2 separate regions of the Homo sapiens genome follow, and region 2 is linked to region 1. The links are contacts of gene promoters, found by promoter capture Hi-C in blood cells and fetal thymus (Javierre and others, 2016). All regions are on one chromosome and are shown on one strand. Each heading gives the region's core, a stretch centred on a gene start or on the middle of the fragment in contact. The rest is flanking DNA. Distances are from core to core; before and after follow the strand shown. Region 1 holds the start of S100A13 (S100 calcium binding protein A13). Region 2 has its middle 9.5 kb from the start of S100A7A.

Region 1 (6,149 bases), core at 858-3,357:
TTTGAGTTCAAGGGGCTGGGAGAGAGTAGGAGAAGAAAGGAGAAAGGAGTGGTCTGTTGAGAGAGAAGACTGCCAAGCCGGGGGGCCTCTTTCCCTTGGCCCTGGGACAGTCTGGCCTTCCACAACCCCAGAGGGGGCAGCTCAGGTGTCTCGGATCAGATGTCCCCATCCTTCCCCAGGCCTAGGGGGCTGGACAATGGCCCCTGATCGAATGACATCCCAGTTCTTCAATGGGGCCCTTGTGAGTGTCATCTGAACTCCGGACCTGAGAAGCAGTTGTCACAGAGACATGGGGGAGATGGAACCCAAGCTGTGGCTGATGAGGGGATAAGGGGTGCTTGAGGGAGGGGTGCTGGTAGCTTGATTACCTGCTCCATGCCAGAGGGGCAGCTGGAGGTCACCTGGAGCCCTAAAGCAGCCTGGGATTTTACGTGGTGGCAGTTCTGAGAGGACTTGGGGGCAGGGGAGATGGGGAAACAAAGAGGTAAGAATGGGGGGAAAGAGGAGTCAAGAGGTCTGGGCCAAAAATGGGAGGAGGAGAAAGGGGAGGTCCTGTGGAGGTCGAGTTGGGAAGGGGCACAGCACCCTACATCTCTGCTTCCCCATATCATGGGAGCTTTGCCCTGCCACCCCCAGACTCCCCCGGGACCTGAGCTCTTGGCAAGGCAGGGTGGGGGTGGCAGAGACTAAGGCTGGCAGGAGAGGTGGGGGCAGAAACAGCTGTTGTATCTGCTCTCTTCTTACCCCACAGGAGGCGAGGCAGGGGAGGGCTGGGACCCTTCCCAACACCTGGGAGACAGAGGGGGCCTTGGCAGGGACTTGAGGGCTCCCTGTGGGAGGGCCAGGCGGTCAGGAAGCTCATGGTGGGTTCCCCACTGGCTTCCTCCTTTGCTGAGCTGCCAGCTCTCTCTCCGACCTTCAGTTCATTTGTCTCTCATCACCACCTTCCAAACCCTGTCTCCCCCAAATCCCAAACTGCCCTCACCCTGACTGACTCCTCCCAGATCCTCAGTGCTCCACAGTGCTATGGTCCCCAGCCTCTTGGAGCCCTTCTGAAGACCCCTCTCCCTGAAGCTGGCAGGCCAGGGACTAGCCCAGTGGGGCAGGGTACTCACGGTTGGCCTGGGCCTGAGGTGGGAGCAGGTTCTGGACAGATGGCCAAGGTTGCAAATGTGGCTGCTGGAGCTGTGTGTGGAGACCTGTCTTCAACAGTCCCTCCCCCGCTGACCCCCCCACCGACTCCACCCCTTCACAGACGAACACCCTGTGGGGCAAGGGGCCAGGAGCAGACAGAGGCGCCCTCTGTCTCCTGGGCTGGAACAGGCGGCCCTTGTCTCTTTCCCAGCCTTGCTTGCCCCGTTCCTTTCTCTCCAGGCAGCAGTGGATGGTGCAGGGGAAAGAGGTGGGAAGGAGGTCCTGGGAGGGACACTGGATGTCTTACCCCAAGCTGGGCCTTGCAGTACCTGTGGCTGGCTGTGCTGGTTGAGCCCGGTAAGGGGGGAATTCTGCTGAGGGGGTCTTAGTCTGTGGCTCCTCCATGGGGCCTCACTGAGAGGACCCTCAGTGAGAAACTTAGTCTTGGGAGTCTGAGAACCCACAGAGGGATTTCAATCCAGGACTCTTCTCTGGGGGTCTCAACCTGGATCCCCCTCTGTGTGTGGGGCCTCAGCCTGGGGTTCTCTGAGGGATCTTGGTCTGTAGCATCCTTTGTGGGATCTCATTCCAAGGGGCCTCTGTGTGTGTCTCAGATTGGGCCTCTCAGTGTTGAGCTCCCTTGATTGGTTGCCTCCCTCTTCCCCCCTCAGCATACACACTCCTGATTAGACATGGGTATGGTGGCAGCAGCCCCCAGTATTGAGAGGACTAGGACCCTGGGACCCCTGCCGAACGAGATCTGTCCAGGCAGCTCCTCTCCCTGACCAAGTGGGGGCGCTCGTGTGGCTGGCAGGGAGCCCGGGTCCAGACCTGAGGGCTCAGGGCAAGCGGCCTGATTGGGCTGTCTCTGGTCTTCAGAATCGACCACGGAAATTTGACACCTCCGGGCTTGGAAGCAGCTCTCTCCTCCTTCCCCGCTGCTTATAAACCTCAGCCCTGAGGCTCCAGCTCACTCTACCCCATCTCCTTGCCGGGTGAGTCTCATGGCTGACCCTGGAGGGAGGCTGGAGATCATTTTTTCTTCCTGGGCTCCCAGGTCCCTCCCCCAGAGCCAGCTCAGACAGGAATTCAGGAAGGAGCTTTGGATGATCGAGCAACAGCGCGTGCAGGAGTGTGTGACGGGGTGGACAGAAAAGAGAATGCCTCTTCCAGCCCCACCCGCCGCACCCCAGGGGGTTGTGAGTGCCTGTACTAAACCCGTCCTGGAGCAGGGAGTCAGAGACGCCCCGTTCCAGGACCCTTGTCACCGGGAGACAGGAGCGGGGAGGATCTGTGGGGTCCTGGGTTCAGCACTCTGCCCTGCTGCCGCTGAGGAGAGGTAAGGGTGGAGCGGGGCAGAGAAAATGGGTCTGTTCAGACGGAGCCAGCTCTGACCACAGGGGACATTTGCCAGACCCTGTGCTTCTCTGCTGGGAGGAGCGGTTAGAGTGTGTGTGGGCGGATGCGAGTGGCCGGAGACCAGGGCCCAACATAAACAAGCTTTGGAGACAAACAACCTTATGACCTGTGAGTCTGGGTGAGACAAGAAGGGATTCTTGAGACAGACACGCCACAGAGGGGCCACCAGACTTGAAGGACTCCAAGAAGGACCTTCAACTGAAGACCTCCTCTCAAGTAGAGGGGTCTCCAGATCGAGGGATCACCACAGAGGGGTCCCTAAGCCACAGACATTTAAAAAGGATCCCGGATTGTGAGACCTACAGAAGAGGGGGTTTCTGGAGCTGAATCTCCTGCCCCCACCAAAACTGAGATGCCGTTGCCTGGTCTGCTGCCCCAAGCTCAACCCCTGTCCTCTCCCTCTTTCCCCATATGCCCCCTCCAGGCTGAGACTGATGTGATAACACCAAGGCAGGGACCTTCTGAACCATTCCTGCATCTTGGGGCTCCCTGACTCTCCCTCTCTGCTCCTTCTCTCTTCCACAGGTCAGCCCTGACAAAGGTCAGCTAGCCCCTTGAGGACATCAGCTTTGGCCTCAGGGTCCTAATGGCAGCAGAACCACTGACAGAGCTAGAGGAGTCCATTGAGACCGTGGTCACCACCTTCTTCACCTTTGCAAGGCAGGAGGGCCGGAAGGATAGCCTCAGCGTCAACGAGTTCAAAGAGCTGGTTACCCAGCAGTTGCCCCATCTGCTCAAGGTAGGCAGAAGTCTGGGACTGAGATTTTGTGAGATGATGATTATGGGACACTGTGTTTAGGACGTGATGGTGCCGAGTACGGTGAGGTGACCACAAGAAAGGGTGTGGGTGGCTGCATGTGTCAATGGTTGCAGGTTTTCTTTTGTTTTTTCGAGACAAAGTCTCACTCTGTTGCCCAGGCCGGAGTGCAGTGGTGTGATCTTGGCTCACTGCAACCTCCATCTCCGGGGTTCAAGTGATTCTCCTGCCTCAGCCTCCTGAGTAGCTGGGATTACAGGTGTGTGCCACCACGCCGAGCCTATTTCTGTATTTTTAGTAGAGACAGGGTTTCACCAGGTTGGCCAGGCTGGTCTCGAACTCCTGACCTCAGGTGATCCACCCGCCTCGGCCTCCCAAAGTGCTGTGGTTACAGGCGCAAGCCACTGCGCCTGACCCGGTTGTGAGTTTTCTTGCCTGGTGTGTACATGTGTGTGTTTGTGTGTCCATGCATATAATTAGGTAAGCAAAGATACTATGTGCCAGTGGGAGTATGGTCTTGTGTCAGAAGATGCTGTTGGGTTCTTGTGTATGCTCTGTGCCTTTCTGGTCTAATTTCCCCAAGACAGGACTGGACCCAGAGCTGGCTTCCAGGAGATTCACAGACTGTCAGAGCTGGAAGGAGGCCAAGAGAAAACACAGTCCGCATTCCTCACTTCACATATATGGAAACTGAGGCCTAGCAGTGGAAAGGGGCTTATCAAAAATGAAAACACAGCCAAATTCATGGAGTCATAGACCTCAGTGTAGGGGGTCTGTGGGTGCATCTGTGAAGACTCCCTACCCGCTATGGGCATCCCCTTACTAGGGTGTAAGAGTCATTCCTTCTCTCGCACTCACAGGCTGGAGTCAGGTCTTAAATTTCATCGACTCTGGCCTCGAAGAGGCCTGGTCATTCTGGCTGTTGACAGTTTGTTTTACATCCTTTCTGAAAATCCACAGGCACGTTGAAGTGTGTGAATATGGACTCCTTGAACACAGTGAGTCTCTGAAACTCATGGTCTTTCATCTGCAAAATCCCCTACAACTTCCAACTTCTCAGACTTTTTTTTGAGACAGGGTTTCTCACTCTGTTGCCCAGGCCACTGTGCGATCACAGCTCATTGCATCCTTGACCTTCCGGGCTCAGGCAATCCTCCTGCCCCAGCCTCACAAGTAGCTGGGACCACAGGCGCATGCCACACTGCCTGGCTAATTTTTTCTTTTTTTGTGACAGAGTCTCACTCTGTCACCGAGGCTGGAGTGCAATGGTGCGATCTTGGCTCACTGCAACCTCTGCCTCCTGGGTTCAAGTGGTTCTCTTACCTCAGCCTCATGAGTAGCTGGGATTACAGGCAACCGCCACCATGCCTGGATAATTTTTGTATTTTTAGTAGAGACGGGGTTTCACTATGTTGGCCAGGCTGGTTTCGAACTCCTGATCTCAGGTGATCCACCTGCCTCGGCCTCTCAAAGTGCTGGAATTACAGGCGTGAGCCACCGCGCCTGGCCTAATTTTTAAGTTACTTGTAGAGATGTGGTCTCTCTGTGTTTCCCAAGCTGGTCTCAAACTCTAGGCCTCAAGTGATCCTCCTGCATTGGCCTTCCAAAGTGTTGGGATTACAGTCATGAGCCACTGTGCCCAGCCAGACGTTTCCTTTTTCATCTTTTTTACTGGAAACTTCAGGTTCTCTCCTGAAGGGACAGCATTCCTTATATCCTTGTCAAGCAGTGATTGTGGTTTTTTTTTTTTTTTTCCTAAATTCAACTTCCTCTGGGCCTGGAAATGGAGGAAGTGACCTCTCTGCTTTCCATTATCTCTAGATTTTAGTTTCTTCTTCTTTCTAAGACTTCCCAGCGCCTTGGAAGATCATCTGCCACCTGCCATTCTTCTTATTGCGCTCCTTACAGCTCTTCAGCTCCTGGCTCACTGTTTTCTTCTCATCACTGCTTCTGTTGTTATTCTCAGTGGCTTCAGCATCCGCACAGACAATTCATCCAACATCTGGGCCTTTCAATTTTCTCAACTCCTCATTTCCAAAAAGATTTGTCTTCTTACATCTCAGCATCCCACTCCTCTGTTCATGCTTTAGACTGTGTCATTAACAAAATAACGCACAACTTCCAAAATCTTGATTTCAAGTTTCCCTTTATCTGCTGACCTCCTCCTGTCATTCCAGTTCTGTTCCCCTCTCTAGCTTCTCCACTTCAGCACTTCCCTGACTCCTCAGGTACCTTCAGTCTCTCGACCCTCTCACTTTTGCATCTTCCATCAACATCCCTCGGGTCCTCATTGCCCTTCCTCCTCACCTCAGGTTCTAAGGCTTCTAATTGTAATCACTGCCTTAACCCCGTTGATTCTGTCTCTCTCTGTTCTCAACCCAGTTAATCCACCATTTCACCTATAGTAACTTGCCAGTTAAATCCACTGTTCTGCACCTGCACTTGGATAGCTGAATCTGGCTGGAGAAAAATGCATAGCTTTGTTGACTTGTCTCACTTTAAATCTATAACCACAGACCCCAAAAGGGACCCTTGGCAATACCTGGCGGTTCTGTGTTTCCCTGGTTGATTCATTTACCAGTTCTTTCAGATAATTATTTCACAATTTGTCTTCTCTCCTCAAAGCTCAGTACATCTTTCCACGTTCTCCCTTTTCCTGAGAAGTTTACTCACTGAGAAGTTCAGGACTTCGAGACCAGCCTGGCCAACATAGTGAAACCCCATCTCTACTAAAAATATATTTAAAAAATTAGCTGGGCATGGTTGTGTGCGCCTGTAATCCCAGCTACTTGGGAGGCTGAAGCAGGAAAATTGCTTGAACCCAGGAGGCAGAGGTTGC
Region 2 (6,808 bases), core at 4,302-6,801, 220 kb after region 1:
ATGTGTCCAGGAATTTATGCATTTCTTCTAGATTTTCTAGCTTATTTGCATAGAAGTGTTTACAGTATTCTCTAATGGTAGTTTGTCTTTCTGTGGGATCGGTGGTGATATCCCCTTTGTCATTTTTTATTGCGTCTATTTGATTCTTCTCTCTTTTCTTCTTTATTAGTCTTGCTAGTGGTCTATCAATTTTGTTAATCTTTTCAAAAAACCAGCTCCTGGATTCATTGATTTTTTGAAGGGTTTTTTGTGTCTCTATCTCCTTCAGTTCTGCTCTGATCTTAGTTATTTCTTGCCTTCTGCTAGCTTTTGAATGTGTTTGCTCTTGCTTCTCTAGTTCTTTTAATTGTGATGTTAGGGTGTCAATTTTAGATCTTTCCTGCTTTCACCTGTGGGCATTTAGTGCTATAAATTTCCCTCTACAGACTGCTTTGAATGTGTCCCAGAGATTCTGGTATGTTGTGTCTTTGTTCATATTGGTTTCAAAGAGCATCTTTATTTCTGCCTTCATTTCATTATGTACCCAGTAGTCATTCAGGAGGAGGTTGTTCAGTTTCCATGTAGTTGAGTGGTTTTGAGTGAGATTCTTAATCCTGAGTTCTAGTTTGATTGCACTGTGGTCTGAGAGACAGTTTGTTATAACTTCTGTTCTTTTACATTTGCTGAGGAGTGCTTTACTTGCAACTATGTGGTAATTTTTGGAATAAATGTGATGGAATAAATGTGACGTGGTGCTGAGAAGAATGCATATTCTGTTGATGTGGGGTGGAGAGTTCTGTAGATGTCTATTAGGTCTGCTTGGTGCAGAGCTGGATATCCTTGTTAACTTTCTGTCTTATTGATCTGTCTAATGTTGACAGTGGGGTATTAAAGTCTCCCATTATTATTGTGTGGGAGTCTAAGTCTCTTTGTAGGTCTCTATGGACTTGCTTTATGAATCTGGGTGTTCCTGTATTGGGTGCATATATATTTAGGATAGTTAGCTCTTCTTGTTGAATTGACCCCTTTACCACTATGTAATGGCCTTCTTTGTCGCGTCTGTTCTTTGTTGGTTTAAAGTCTGTTTTATCAGAGACTAGGATTGCAAGCACTGCTTTTTTTTGCTTTCCTTTTGCTTGGTAGGTCTTCCTTCATCCCTTTATTTTGAGCCTATGTGTATCTCTCCACCTGAGATAGGTCTCCTGAATACAGCACACTGATGGGTCTTGACTCTTTATCCAATTTGCCAGTCTGTGTCTTTTAATTGGAGCATTTAGCCCATTTACATTTAAGGTTAATATTGTTATGTGTGAATTTGATCCTGTCATTATGATGTTAGCTGGTTATTTTGCTCGTTAGTTGATGCAGTTTCTTCCTAGCATCAATGGTCTTTACAGTTTGGCATGTTTTTGTAGTGGCTGGTAACGGTTGTTCCTTTCCATGTTTAGTGCTTCCTTCAGGAGCTCTTGTAAGGCAGGCCTGGTGGTGACAAAATCTCTCAGCATTTGCTTGTCTGTAAAGGATTTTATTTCTCCTCCACTTATGAAGCTTAATTTGGCTGGATATGAAATTCTGGGTTGAAAATTCTTTTCTTTAAGAATGTTGAATATTGGCCCCGACTCTCTTCTGGCTTGTAGAGTTTCTGCCAAGAGATCCTCTGTTAGTGTGATGGGCTTCCCTTTGTGGGTACCCTGAGCTTTCTCTCTGGCTGCCCTTAAGATTTTTTCCTTCATTTCAACTTTGGTGAATCTGACAATTATGTGTCTTGTAGTTGCTCTTTTCGAGGAGTATCTTTGTGGCCCTCTCTGTATTTCCTGAATTTGAATGTTAGCCTGCCTTGCTAGATTGGGGAAGTTCTCCTGGATAATATCCTGCAGACTGTTTTCCAGCTTGGTTCCATTCTCCTCCTCACTTTCATGTACACCAAGCAGACTTAGATTTGGTCTTTTCACATAGTCCCATATTTCTTGGAGGCTTTGTCCATTTCTTTTTACTCTTTTTTCTCTAAACTTCTCTTCTCACTTCATTTCATTCATTTGATCTGCAATCACTGCTACCCTTTCTTCCTGTTGATCAAATTGGCTACTGAAGCTTGTGCATGAGTCATGTAGTTCTCGTGCCATGGTTTTCAGCTCCATCAGGTCATTTAAGGTCTTCTCTATGCTGTCTATTCTAGTTAGCCATTCATTTAATCTTTTTTTCAAAGTTTTTAGCTTCTTTGCGATGGGTTTGAACAAACTCCTTTAGCTCGGAGAAGTTTGTTATTACTGATCATCTGAAGCCTTCTTCTCTCAACTCGTCAAAGTCATTCTCCATCCAACTTTGTTCCGTTGCTGGTGAGGAGCTGCGTTCCTTTGGAGGAGAAGAGGTGCTCTGATTTTTAGAGTTTTCAGCTTTTCTGCTCTGGCTTCTCCCCATCTTTGTGGTTTTATCTACCTTTGGTCTTTTATGATGGTGACGTACAGATGGAGTTTTGGCGTGGATGTCCTTTCTGTTTGTTAGTTTTCCTTCTAACAGTCAGGACCCTCAGCTGCAGGTCTGTTGGAATTTGCTGGAGGTCCACTCCAGACCCTGTTTGCCTGGGTGTCACCAGCGGAGGCTGCAGAACAGCAAATATTGCAGAATGGCAAATGTTGGTTCCTGATTGTTCCTCTGGAAGCTTTGTCTCAGAGGGGCACCTGGCTGTATGAGGTGTCAGTTGGCCCCTGCTGGGAGGTACCTCCCAGTTAGGCTGCTTGGGGGTCAAGGACCCACTTGAGGAGGCAGTCTGTCAGTTCTCAGATCTCAAACTCCGTGCTTGGAGAACCACTACTCTCTTCAAAGCTGTCAAACAGGGACGCTTAAGCCTGCAGAAGTTTCTGCTGCCTTTTGTTCAGCTATGCCCTGCCCACAGAGGTGGAGTCTACCGAGGCAGGCAGACCTCCTTTAGCTGTGGTGGGCTCCACCCAGTTCGCGCTTCCTGGCTGCTTTGTTTACCTACTCAAGCCTCAGAAATGGCGGGCACCCTGCCCCCAGCCTCACTGCCGCCGTGCAGTTTGATATCACACTGCTGTGCTAGCAGTGAGCGAGGCTCTGTGAGTGTGGGACTGTCCGAGCCAGGCACGGGATATGATCTCCTGGTGTGCTGTTTGCTAAGACCACTGAAAAAGCACAGTATTAGGGTGGGAGTGACCTGATTTTCCAGGTGCCGTCTGTCACGGCTTCCCTTGGCTATGAAAAGTATTCCCTGGCCCCTTGTGCTTCCTGGGTGAGGTGATGCTCACCCTGCTTCAGCTCATGCTCTGTGGGCTGCATCCACTGTATTGCTCCCACTGTCTGACAAGCCCCAGTGAGATGAACCCGGTACCTCAGTTGGAAATGCAGAAATCACCTGTCTTCTGCTTCGCTGGGAGCTGTAGACTGGAGCTGTTCCTATTCGGCCATCTTGGAACCTCTCCAAAAATATCAAACATATTTGAGACATCCAAAAAACTGATCATTTGTTTTTGCTAAAATCAAAATCTTAGCAAATTAGCTTTAATAGGGGCCTTATCTTTTGCACCTGCTCATCAGGTTGAACCCTGTGAGCCTTTCCCCTGTGTCATGTCTGGAACAAACACTCTCCATAAACCCACCCCATCCTATCACACATCCAACCTCCCAGCCACTGCTGATCCCCCAGGAGAGCTCACAACAGGCTGATTGTGAACAGGAATTTGGCTGGTTGATATCTTCATCTCCTCTATCGTTTTGGGGAGCTCGCCTCTCCCCAGCCTGAAGTAGAAGCAACATACTCCTGGGTCTCTAGAAGATCTCAAGTTGCTGGGGGAAGAGGACAGAAAGCAATTTGTTCTTTTTGCTGTATTTTATCCATTCATTTATGCTGTGAGTGCTGACTCTGTTCTGGGTGTGCAGGTGTCAGGGTGGCAGGGAGATGGAGTGGATGTGGACCATGCTTTGAGCAATGCTCTGGCCCCAGGAGAGAACTCCAATATAAGGCACTGGGTGGTGAGAGAGTAGAGTGGGACAGAGCCCGGAAGCCCCCAGGTCCCCAGGCAGTTCAGTGGTCACTTTCTCTGTGAAGCCTTCTCCAGGCAGAGCCATCATCCCCATGTCCCTGCATGTCTCAGTGACAGCCCTGGCCACACATATGCTATGTTTGCTGCCGCCCAGCCATGTCTTATATTGTGCCCCCAGCCTCCAGTGCAGAGAACTCCATAAACATTGGCCAAACTAGCAAGTGAGGCAGGTGTCTTCAAAAAGGTTCAGATAAAGTGTGTGGGAATTTGGAAGAGGAGAAATCACTTTTCAGGTGGGGGAACCAGGGGAAGCTTTGTAGGGGCATCCTTTCAATAGGCCATAGAGCACTTCCAGGAGCCACGGTGAGAGGGACAGGGCAGAGGGAGCCACGGGAATGTTCCAAGACAGCCAGCTGTTCTGTTTGGGGTCCTTCTGGGTGGTGCTGGCCAGCTGCATCTCTGGACTCGTGCAGCAGTTGGGGGAGCGGGACAGAGAGACAGAGAGAGAGTTCTGCAGCATTCACAAGAGGTTATTAGGACTCAGTTCTGCTGTGAGCCATCCACACTGGAGGATGAGAACACCCAGCTGCAGCCCAGAGCCTGTGGTCCCACTGTTAGGTTTTGAAGGGAAGGCAAGGGTTAAAAAAAGACACAGAGAGAGTTGGTGGCTCTATGGAAATGCAGGTTTTATGTCCAGCACAAGACCTGAGGAGGTGGGGGACAAGCTTAATGCCAGAGCCCCCTGCCGCTTACAGGCTGGGGTAATTTATAGGTCTAGGTGGGGGTCTGGGCAGTATGGCTAGCTCGCCGGGAGGATATTGATAAGATGTTCCTGTGATCAGGCGGTTTGGACCTTTTTCCAGCGGGATGTGATAGGCTGTTTCTTGGACCTTTGCCCCGCAGGATATGATGGGGATGTTCCTTCAGTTGCGCCTTTGCCCAGCAGGGTATGATAAGGATGCTCTTGTGCCTTGCGGTCAGGTGGTTAGGCAGGATGTTTCTCACGGCCTGAATCCACATGGAATGTTTCACTCTGACCAGGGTCCGCAAAATGGCAGGGGGCTTACAAAATGGTGCAGTTTGGACTAACACCCACCATCCTGTCGAATGGGTTTGCTGGGAGGATTTACTGTCAATTCTGTTAGCCTGATAAGGGAGGTTGCTTTCTCGGAGGCCGCATACACAGACAGTGCTAGGAAGTGACCCAAGCGTACCCTGAGAAATGTATCTGTTCAACCAAATTTCAAGTTGGCAATGATCATTCCTCATCTCGCCCAATTTTAAGACGAGGCTGGGCCGTGTAGGTAAAACTGGCAAGCTGGAGAAAGCAGTGCGGGGTGGGGGGGACTCCAGGAAGGCTCCTTGGCCAAGGAGGACTGTAGGATTCTGACTTACACTGTAAGGGCTGTTCCTGTTACAGTTGGCCCCAGTCAGAGGCCCAGGACAAAACTCTGGCCCTGAGTGCAGAGAATTGGTTTTCTGTTTCCCAAGCTTCCACACGGTGGCGCCACCGAGCACCCACCTCGCCCTGGTTGTCGCCGGAGGCAGTACCACGTGGCTGGGTCCTTCGTGGTTCCCGCCCTTCTGTAGGTTGTGAGTCCCACGTCGGGCACCAATCTTGCACCTGTTAAAAAAAGAGATCTTCACCAAAAGCTTCTGAAAGGCAGAGGGCTTTTCTTACTTAATTTGTATTCTTTTCTCTCTCCAATGCTTACCAGAGGACACTGCATAAAATAGTATATTGGGGACACAATTGTTAATCAAGTGGTAGAAACAGGAAGAGATAAAAATAATTAAATTTTTAGTAATGGTGGGTTAAGTAAATCTTGATGCCTATACACATGGAATCCCTGTGATGATACGAAATGGACATTTGGTCTTTGTCCCTGTTCCTGACACCGAGCGTCTGAAATCCTTGGAATCTCCTGAATGACAGGGGAGAGGGAGCATCTTTTGTTATTCATAACAATCCCCTTCCAGTCATGCTGAGTGTGTGCTAATGAGGTGACTCTTGGTGGACCCCTAGATAGCTTCAGGATGGGGCTGGTTGCCAGAGGAAGCAACCATGTGATTAGAGGGCTGGAGCTTTCAGCCCCACACTGGGCCTCCACAGAGCGGCTGGGGAAGGACTTCAATCACCAGTGGCCAATTATTTAATCAACTATGCCTAAATGAAGTGACTGCCATAGAAACCCCAAACGATGGGGTTCAGAGAACTGTAGGGCTGCTGAGCAGGTGGGGTGCCGGAAGGGTGGGCTCCTGGAGTGGGCCTGGGAGCTCCATGCTGCCCCTCATACATGGCCCTGTGTGTCTCTTCCACGTGGCTTTTCCTGAGTTGTACTCTTTGTAATAAACCAGTAATCATGAGTAAAGTGCCTCCCTGAGTCCTGTGAACTCTTGTAGCAGATTATCTAACCTGAGGAGGGGGTTTGTAGGAACCTCCAATTTTAGCCAGTCAGTCAGAAGTATGGGCGGTCAGGTGCTGCGATTGGCATCTGCAGTGGGGGCAGTGTTGTGGGGCTGAGCCTTCACCTTGTGGGGTCTGTGCTAACTCTTGGTAGTTAGGATCAGAACGGAATTGCACGATACCCCGATGGTGTTCAGAGTGTTGGAGAATTGGTTGGTGTGGGGATTTTAAAAAAAGGAAATATAACCCCCACACATTTGGCGTCAAAAGTGTTGTTAGTCAGAATGGTTCTGGAATTCCATATAATGTAGCTATTTGGAATCAATCACTCAAAAATATTTAAGAACTGGGGAGATGTTTTAAACATAGTCCTAATTGAAAAAGCAGATCATAAAACAGCTGGGAAAGGGCAGGGCCGTGGCCC

What was found. The method cuts DNA at HindIII sites, captures the fragments that hold promoters and counts their contacts. A CHiCAGO score of 5 or more calls a contact.
Region 2: a fragment that was not itself captured here is called in contact with the fragment with the promoter of S100A13 in region 1 in 1 of 17 cell types (M1 macrophages); the score reaches 5.5 in M1 macrophages.

Annotation. Positions count from the first base shown.
Region 1 is chr1:153,623,463-153,629,611 of GRCh38, reverse strand. S100A13 (S100 calcium binding protein A13) reads left to right here and starts at 2,107. Exons shown (of 3, transcript NM_001024211.2): 1 at 2,107-2,129; 2 at 3,079-3,292. The coding sequence starts at 3,140. S100A1 (S100 calcium binding protein A1) reads right to left here and starts at 1,178. Exons shown (of 3, transcript NM_006271.2): 1 at 1,116-1,178. RefSeq lists enhancers at 210-1,033, 1,860-2,685. The HindIII fragment of the contact is 11,281 bases long and covers 1-2,636 here.
Region 2 is chr1:153,403,599-153,410,406 of GRCh38, reverse strand. It overlaps a transcript of S100A8 not described here. Among named protein-coding and RNA genes, the nearest start is that of S100A7A, 9.5 kb to the left of the region's middle. The HindIII fragment of the contact is 162 bases long and covers 5,471-5,632 here.